Linked DNA regions of Homo sapiens: region 1 is linked to region 2. Evidence: promoter capture Hi-C in 16 types of primary human blood cells and fetal thymus (Javierre and others, 2016). All regions are on one chromosome and are shown on one strand. Each heading gives the region's core, a stretch centred on a gene start or on the middle of the fragment in contact. The rest is flanking DNA. Distances are from core to core; before and after follow the strand shown. Region 1 has its middle 110 kb from the start of RADX. Region 2 holds the start of RADX (RPA1 related single stranded DNA binding protein, X-linked).

Region 1 (4,273 bases), core at 1,175-3,674, 110 kb after region 2:
GTTTTTTTTTTTTTAACTGAGGTGGGGTCAGGCTCTGTCACCCAGGCTGGAGTGCAGTGGCATAATCTCAGCTCACTGCAACCTCTGCCTCCTGGGCTTAAGCTATCCTCCCACCTCAGCCTCCTGGGTAGCTGGGACTTCAGATGCCTGTCACCACACTCGGCTAATTTTTGTATTTTTTGTAGAAATGGCATTTCGCTGTGTTGTCCAGGCTGGTCTCGAACTATTGAGCTCAAGTAATCCACCCTCCTCCGCCTCCCAAAGCGCTGGAATTACAGGCATGAGCCAGCCACTGTGCTCAGCCCAAGATTCTTTCTCAATTAAAATTATTTTCCTTTTAACCTTTCTCACCAAAAATACCTCTTTATATTTACACATTTCTTTACATTGCTCTTATTTACTGCTTCCTTTTACCCTGTTTCAGAAATCGCCTTTAAGTGTTCTTTGAATTAGACAAAAATTATTTTTCCTTAAATATAAACTTTTTTTAGAAAAATGTTTTCCTATAACAAAATCTTTAAAGATAAATTGGAAATAACCCAGACATTTAATGGATATCTATTATTTAATTTTATATGACTTTTGATTCTAACTTATATAGTACTTTTATTTACAACCATTTCTTCCATTGCCCTAATTAATTTTTTAAATAGCTTACCTAGATTACTTGTGAAAACTGTGATAGTCATCATTTAAAATTACTTCCCTGTTAACCATTTTTATAGCCTGTGAATTTCAGGTGTTTACCTAAGTAAGAACCTTATGGTTAAATAAATGTTCTTTTTTTTGGCCAACAACCCAGGATTTAGCTGTTTTTGTTAAATGCACAATATTAAATGCCTTATTTATCAAAAAATTACACAACCAAAGGTAATTCTTTTGGGAGTTGCAAGCATTATAACCCTCATGCCAAATTTTGACACCTTATAATACCTAGCAGAGATAAATATTAAACCGCTTGACCAATAAATTTAAACAAAATGTATGTTGACGATTCTGAAGACATTTCTAATTTTATTTTACTAATAATTTTAAAACCAGCTTATTTATTAAGGGTTTACTTAACTCGTGAACTTGAATACACGCTCGAGCTTAAAGTTTCTATTTTTATGATAAAGTATTTTATTTAAGCACTTTATTTTCCTTCAAGCCAATCAGTTAGAGCTCTTTTATATACTTTTGATAGTGAAACGTTATATACTTGACACATAAATTCATAGATGTATTAGACACACAGATAGTAGATCTTATAGATTCATAAGACCTCTTTTTTCCCTATTTTAGACTTCCGATTTCTTGATAACCTGTTTCATTACCCTAGGCAAGTGTCAGCTACATAGCCCTAAAATTGTATATCAAAGGAACAACTCAGGTGAAAATCAGATAGGGAAATTTACATCTCAAAGTGGCCAGGAGAGAGAGATAGAGACAGAGAGAGAGAGATTAAGATAGAGACAGAGAGGGATTAAGAGAGAGAGAGAGAGAGAGTCTGGTATGAGAGAGGGTGATTAAAAATGCATGCCATGTCAAACATAAAGTTATAGAAATCTATCACAGGATTTTATAAGGAGGTCAATTTTATTCAGACAGGTAGTTTTAAATTTAGTAGCTATCTTTTAACTGAATTTCTGAGCTCTGGGCAGAGCCTACACTGAATCCTGTGTCTCCAAAAAGAAAAAAATGTCATGGGACTTGGCCACATAATACTTTTACAATGCACTTAGTTACAAACATATTTCTCTAAGTATCTAAACCACACCCTTTTTTATCTTACACACTCGAGTAGTGTTTGTTCTAATAGCTATTTCAGTTAAAAAAAAATCAGGTAACACAATACACAAGTAAGCAGTTTAAGATCTGAGAGGAACTTGTCTCTACACTCTTGGGGTTCCGTAAGGAGAAACAGAAGTTTCTCACCAAAAAGGGAGCCTGGTGCCTTCTCTGTTTTCTATAAGGAATCTCGGTCTGTTAGAAATTATTTTAGGTCTCTTATGCAGCAGAGGGTGGCAAGAGAAAGGAGAAACAGGCAAAAGTAAATGGAGAAAACTAAATTCAGTTGATGGAAAAGAAAGAAATCTTGTTCTCAGAAATCAAGATCCTGTGAGAGAAAAAAAAAACCATAAAGACCTTACACATACACACACACACACACACACACACACCCCTTGGATATTAGCTTTTAATAAAGCTGACTTTTAACCATTGAGCTCTGAAAAAAATCCTTTTAAATCTCACCATATTTTAGCTGGGACAAATTGCTATTTCAAAAGTAACACAAATATTAAACTGGAAGGGACTTGATTTAGCAATAAAACCCAGGCTATTGTGGTGAACAAAAAAGGGGGCAGAACCTTAGCTACTGAACTACAGGGTGGATGACAACCATTGCTCTTTCATTTTGGCTTGGCTGGCAAAAAGTGCCAAGCTATGTAAATAAAACCCCTCAGGGTAGTCAAAAGTTTTTTTTTTTTCCTTTTTCTTGTCATTTTATCTTTTTCCTTTTTTTTTTTTTTCCAGTTACAGGAATTTAGCCAATTCAGAGTCCTTGTTCCCCATAATTTTGAACTTTAGATTTGATCAAGTCAGGTAGAATTGGTCAAAACCCAATGGGAGAAAGACTGAAACAGTAACAAAAACAGAAACAAACAAATAAGCAAAAAAAAAAAAAAAAAAAAAGCCAGTTAAGCAAAACAAACAGCTACACATTTTATATAATTACTCAGCACTCTAATGGTAAGGAGAAATTAAGACCAGCCGGTTGTTAATCTTAACTTTAGTCATTAAAAAGAATTTCCAAGACAAAACCCCAATTTAGATACTTACCTAGGAACTGGGGCCCAGGCTAAAGATTTCTTTGTACCATCCTAGAAGAAGGAAAATACTCAAACTTGCCTTCCCTGTTGGAAGTGAGTAAAACTCTAGAAAAGGAGATGTACAGCAAAATAAACCTAGATCTCAGCCAAATTTTGGGATATCAGGGATTCTCTGGAGTGGGGAGCTCCCAGGCCTCAGCAAATCATCCTATTGGTTTGAGCAATAAAGACAGCTCAAGCTGTCTAGAGGTCAAGCCCAAGCTGTCAGGTCAGAAGCACTTCCACTCAGAATCCCTCCCTTTGTGGTTACCAATTTGTAAACCGTAAAGTATCTGAGACAGATCTTAATCAATTTAGAAGTTTATTTTGCCAAGGTTAAGGACATGCACCTGGGAGACAGGTCTGTGCCTTTCCCCAAAGATGATTCTCAGGGCTTCAGTGTTTAAAGGGGAAAAGCAGGCTGGAGGGGAAAAAGGGAGAGTACGGTCACATTACTGAATCCACATGCTGCAAGAGAAAAGGAGCAAGTAAGGAAGGAGTCAATTATGTTCTGGTCTCATGCTCAGTAAATTGGCATTTTACATAAAATAAGGTGAACACAGAGTAGCTACCTGTGGAGATATTTAACTTTTTATTTGTAGCTATCTGCTTAGGAACAAAAGGAAAGGCGGCTTCTTGCATGACTCAGCTTTTAGCTTAATTCTTTTCTTTTGGCACAGTGAAATTAGGGTCCCAAGTTTTCATTTTCCTTTGACAGTATTCTGAGGCAGAGGTTCTACCAACCCTTTTTCTCCTTTACTTCCTGTTAGACTGACTAGGACAACAAAGGGAGACAGGAAGTCTGAAGGAGGGAGAACAAAGTTGCTTCTTCTTCTCTCTGCTTCCTGTTTCTTTTTGTCACCCTCACAAAAGACATCTACCTGGGCAGGGCCATGTGGATTTAGTAGGAACAGGAGGGCCAATTTCATAGTTTCTCTCTAAATATGAAGAACTATTGTTATTATGGTGGCTTTCACTTCAGAAGGACTCCTCCTTCAAGAACCTGAGACTTCAGTACCAGTTAAGCAACTCCCCTGATTTAAATGTAAATGTTCCAATTCGGTAGGGGCTCTTTCTCCAAGCTGTTTCAGTGCCATCTCTAATTGGGCAGCCCATTTTATCAGAGGTCTGGGTCCAAGTCTTACCCAAATATCCTAATTGCTTTCCCAGGCCTTGGATTGGTAGTTATTTCTGGCACTCTGAACACCTATTTTAACCAATTTCCTGTTGTAAATTCCATTTAAATATCTTCTGTGGACTTGGTTTTTTAATATTTTCCTTTTTCAGTAATTCCATTGTAATGCACCTATGTGTGATTTCTTTACATGCATTCTGCTTGGGATTTGTAGCACGACTTGATGTATGGCTTTATATCTTTTATTATTTTTACAATATTCTTTGCTATTTTCGTGTTCAATATT
Region 2 (4,577 bases), core at 1,328-3,827:
CCTTTTAAGCCAGCAATTTCGCCAGAGGAAGCCGTTCAACAGCAATGCTTGAACATAGTAAACAAAAATATGTGTACATTCTAATGATGCTTATCATTGTATGTAATACTAAAACACTAATAAGTGCCTAAAACTACAAATTACCTATTCACATGGGCATGATTATAGAAATTATGGCACACCCATGCTATGGAATATTGTATGTACAGATGTACATGAAAGATGCCTGAGATGTGTTCAGTGGAAATAGCAAATCACACAATGCGACATTAATTCCTTTTTTTTAAAAAAATACACAACAAACTGCTGACAATTTGAGATTTTTAGAAGAAAGGTGAAGGCACTAGGGAAGGTGAAAGAGGTCTTTCACTTCTCCCTAATATTTTATTATTAACAATTTGAAACATATAGCAAAACTGAATAAATTTTACAGTGAACATCAATATGCCCACTTCCTAGATTTTATCACTAACATTTTACTATACTTTGGTGGTATATTTCTAACACAATATACTTTCAAATATACAGATTGGGTTTTATTTTGGCATACAGACATTGCCTTTTGTATTATAAATATGGTTTTAATGAATGAATAGATATTACGACAAAATACATTTTACAAAGTATTAATCCCCTCAACTTTTCTTGTAGGGCACCAGTTTTTCATTTACATATTCAATTCTAAAAATTAAAGTGATCAACATTTAGAGTAGTAATGCACTACTGCCTTATTTCACACTTGAGATAAAATCACTCCATTTTTTCATCCCTGAAATAGCTATCTTGCTTTTTAAAATTTAGTTATTTAAAATATCCTTACCTACACATTTCTATAACATCTTTTTTCCTTACAACTGGATGTGACTATAATTGCATGGTTTTTGAGCTAGTTATTCTTTTACTTTCAAGTTTGTTGCTCTTACACGTCACAGTAAGATTATCCGTGATTTAGCATTGTGACAACATTGTAAAAGGGACTGAAAAGCAGTAATGTAGAAAATTATAGTCTTTCTCCTTCCAGTACTTTCTCTTATTTTATTTTTTGCATTTTATTTCTTTCCCCATTTCAAACGTGTTCATGCCTACAGTACTATCATTCCCCTTAATTTCATCTGTTAGAGAAAAAAAACGTATTTTAGAGCAGTTGCTGATGGCAAGCTAGTGTTTTCAAGCTAACTTCCTACTTCTGATACAGAAAAATTGAAGTTCCCAGATCAGTACTCTTTGTGGTGAGTAATAAGAAACAAGAAAATGAGAATGTCAAGCCTTCCCATAAAAATCACACCGTTAAAAGGTGATATTTACATAACTGTTACACGGCGTTTCAATCAATGTAAAGTATTAAGGAATACATCACGGAGCATCCTTTTTGAATGAAGATTAAAACATGCAAACCCGCAAATTTTTACAACCTTTATGCTAAATTCAAATCTATAAGCTCTTCAACCGACACAACGTACTATTTCCACAACTGGATTGGGAATAAAACTAAGATTAATTCCACCACAATCAAACATGTAACGAACGTATGAGGAATACTGACTCCCACATCAGTACGTTTGCCAGACTGAATTTTAAGATGTAGTCAAACACACTTCCTGAATTGGCCACTTTTGCAATCAAAGAAACAAACAAACAAAAAACACCAACAAAAACCACTGGCTGTGCAAATTTCATTGAGCATCCCTTGGTCATTTAAGAAAACTTGTCTACCTACCACTCCTGGCTTGTAATTAACAATACAAAAGCATTTTCATTTCCTTTCCCGTTCACGCAAGCTCCTGAAAACTATTTTTTTTAAAACCCTCTGCCGTTCTTTCCAAACACTTACCGCTAAAGTTGTGTTCCTCAGGTTGCTTGTCTGTTAACCAGATATCTCCATAGGGATCTTCGTTATTCCACAGCGCCAGGTAATGACTCTTCCCGCCTCTTAAAGGCCTCTCTGGTTTCTCCTGGTGCGCTCTATTTCTGAAGGGAGTTTCTAAAGAAATACTGTCTGAAGTCTCCCCACAGTGGACGTTATCTATGCACAGGATCCCCTGGCCTATCCTTTTCTCATTGTAAAGACATGAGACCCTGGAAATTCTCATTTGAATGCCAACTTTAAGAATATTTTGATATACGAGAGAGTTCAAGCTGGGGTCCAGGTAGCACTTCTCCTGGTACACCCCATCTGAGATCGTCACATCATAGCAATAAAGGGGAGGCTTGGGCACCGTGTCGCGTGGCTCATCCTCTAACAGGTACCTCTGGACGGCCAGCACAGTTACAGGCACCACCTCCGAGGGGGTGACACACTGGCGAGGTGAGTCCATAATCTGCTCAAGAACCTTTTGGATCCAGGACCTGGGCCCTTGGGAACCAGCTCTTCGGATCACCCCTCCCGGGACCCCAGCCCGATTCCTCTCAGGGTTCGGCCAATCTAGCCCTGCATGTGAGGGACCAGCCTCAGGCTGTCCTGACTCACCAGACATTGTTGGATAACTGCGTACCCGCTTCACTCCCAAAAGCTAGTTTGCCCCGTCCAAAGCGGAGAGAAATAAAACCGCGCGCTTTGGCGACGATCGCTACTCTGCCCCTGCTGACAGGCAAGACTCCGCCCCGTAGCGAGGCTGCAAAGACTTTACGCGTGCGCGCGCCAGCTCTCCCACCCCGCCCCTCGCTCCGAGCGCTTCCGACTCGAGACACTGTTACTAGGCAGTCACACGCGCGAGTTACGTAGCAGGTCGTCCGACCTTGTGCCCGCCGGGTTGCCGTCTGGGGGAGGGATGACAGGGGAAGGGGAGGGGGAATCGGTGGTTGTCATGGTTCTCAAAGAGGGAGGGGGAGAGCGCTTGTGGTCCCCTGGAAAGGAGGATGCCTAGAGGCAAGGGAAAAGAGAAAGTGGCAAGAATCAGGGTGCAGAGTCAAAGCTCAGGGATTTGGGGGTTTGGGCTTTGGGCCAGGAACAGAAAGTAATTTAGAGTTGGTTAACATATGTTAATGTTATAACATGGGTTTCCTGTAGTATGAACAAAACCAGATAATTTATGCAGAGCCTCCAGGACAGACTCTAGCACAAAAAGTCCTCAGTAAACATTAGCTGCTATTGCGATTAGCATTAGCATAATTATCTGTAGTGGCTCCCTGAGTGTAGGGTGGGTGAATTAGTGTTTAAGTGCAAATGAAAATAGAAAACTAGAACTGGCTTGTAAAGGGCTGCCTTTAGATTAGACTTCTTAAAATGCAGCTAGTTTTAATATAATACCTGGCCTAATATACATCTAGGGTAGAGATTTCAGAAACTTTGTTTAATGTTTGTTTGTTTAATGCAAGGCATATATCAGGAACGAATGTAAAGTGAAAAAGCTGATAAGAATAGTAAAAATTAAGGATAAAATATTTAATAGATGTACTTAGATCCAGTATACATAGAAGGGAGTAATTGTTCTAAGAATACTTTTTAAGATGGTTATGAGCTGATTTTGTTTATACTAATTTCCTTTGGCTCTCTATTTTATCATTCTTTATTCACTATTTATGAAGTCTCTATATGAGGTAGGCACTGTTTTAGGCCACTGGGGATAACTGTAGTCAGGGTCCTTCCCTCAAGTTTCTTCTCATTGCTTGGGCTAAAGAGCCCTGCCGTTATTAATACTTAACTAATTTACTCATTCTATACAGATTTCTTGAGTGTCTGGTCTGGGCAGGGTATAGCCTTGCTAGGGAGACCAAAAAACATAGTAAGGGGAAATAAAGTGGAGGGAACAGGAGTTAATATTTTATAAAAAGTATGATTACAGAAAGGTTCTCTAGTAAGAGACTGAACAGAACAGAGATGTGCAGGAAGTGAGGAAGTGAGCTATGTGGATATCTAGGGGAATGGCACTTGAATCAGAGAAAACAAGAAGAATAAATTCCATGAGACAGAAGCATACTTGATATTTTCAAGGAAATGCATAAGCCAATCAGCCGCAGTGGAGGGGCGAGGGGGAGAGTGGTAGGAGGTGAGGTCAGAGAGGTAGCAGGGTTTCTTCTATTATGAGCAAAGGAGTGACATGACACTTAGTCTTGAACCCCACTTCCTTCATGATGCCTCCCCTCACCAATTCAGTCTAGGATAATCTTTCTCTTCTCTGTATCACCTTGTATCACTCATTTGATACTTATCATCTAATACTTGCAGTTAAAAAAAAAAAACTTAATGTATGCGTAACTCAGAGTTTCTCAACATGGGCACTCTTGATTCTTTGGGCCAGAAAGTTTTTTGTTGTGGGCTGTCTTGTGCACTGTAGGATGCTTAGCAGCATCTCTGGCCTCTACCCATTAGATACCTGTAGCACCTCCCCCTCCAGTTGTGAGAACCAGAAATATCTCCAGACATTGCCAAATGTCCCCTGGGGTAGCAAAGTCGCTACAAGTTGGAACACCCGATTATGATCTGCATTAACTAGATCTTAAACTTTTCGAAAGCAGAAACTGATTTGTTCTTTCACTACTGCTATGCATAAAAGGCACTCAAATATTTTAAATAAGTAAAACATATAATTCCCAGTGCCTCTCTACCAAAGGGAATATACAAGTGTGGCTTTCCATAA

What was found. The method cuts DNA at HindIII sites, captures the fragments that hold promoters and counts their contacts. A CHiCAGO score of 5 or more calls a contact.
Region 1: a fragment that was not itself captured here is called in contact with the fragment with the promoter of RADX in region 2 in 1 of 17 cell types (naive CD4 T cells); the score reaches 5.1 in naive CD4 T cells.

Annotation. Positions count from the first base shown.
Region 1 is chrX:106,501,798-106,506,070 of GRCh38, reverse strand. No RefSeq gene overlaps it. Among named protein-coding and RNA genes, the nearest start is that of RADX, 110 kb to the left of the region's middle. The HindIII fragment of the contact is 6,045 bases long and covers 1-4,273 here.
Region 2 is chrX:106,609,978-106,614,554 of GRCh38, reverse strand. It overlaps RADX (RPA1 related single stranded DNA binding protein, X-linked), which reads right to left and starts at 2,577. Exons shown (of 14, transcript NM_018015.6): 1 at 1,832-2,577. The coding sequence starts at 2,474. RefSeq lists enhancers at 2,013-2,352, 2,393-2,582. The HindIII fragment of the contact is 18,100 bases long and covers 1-4,577 here.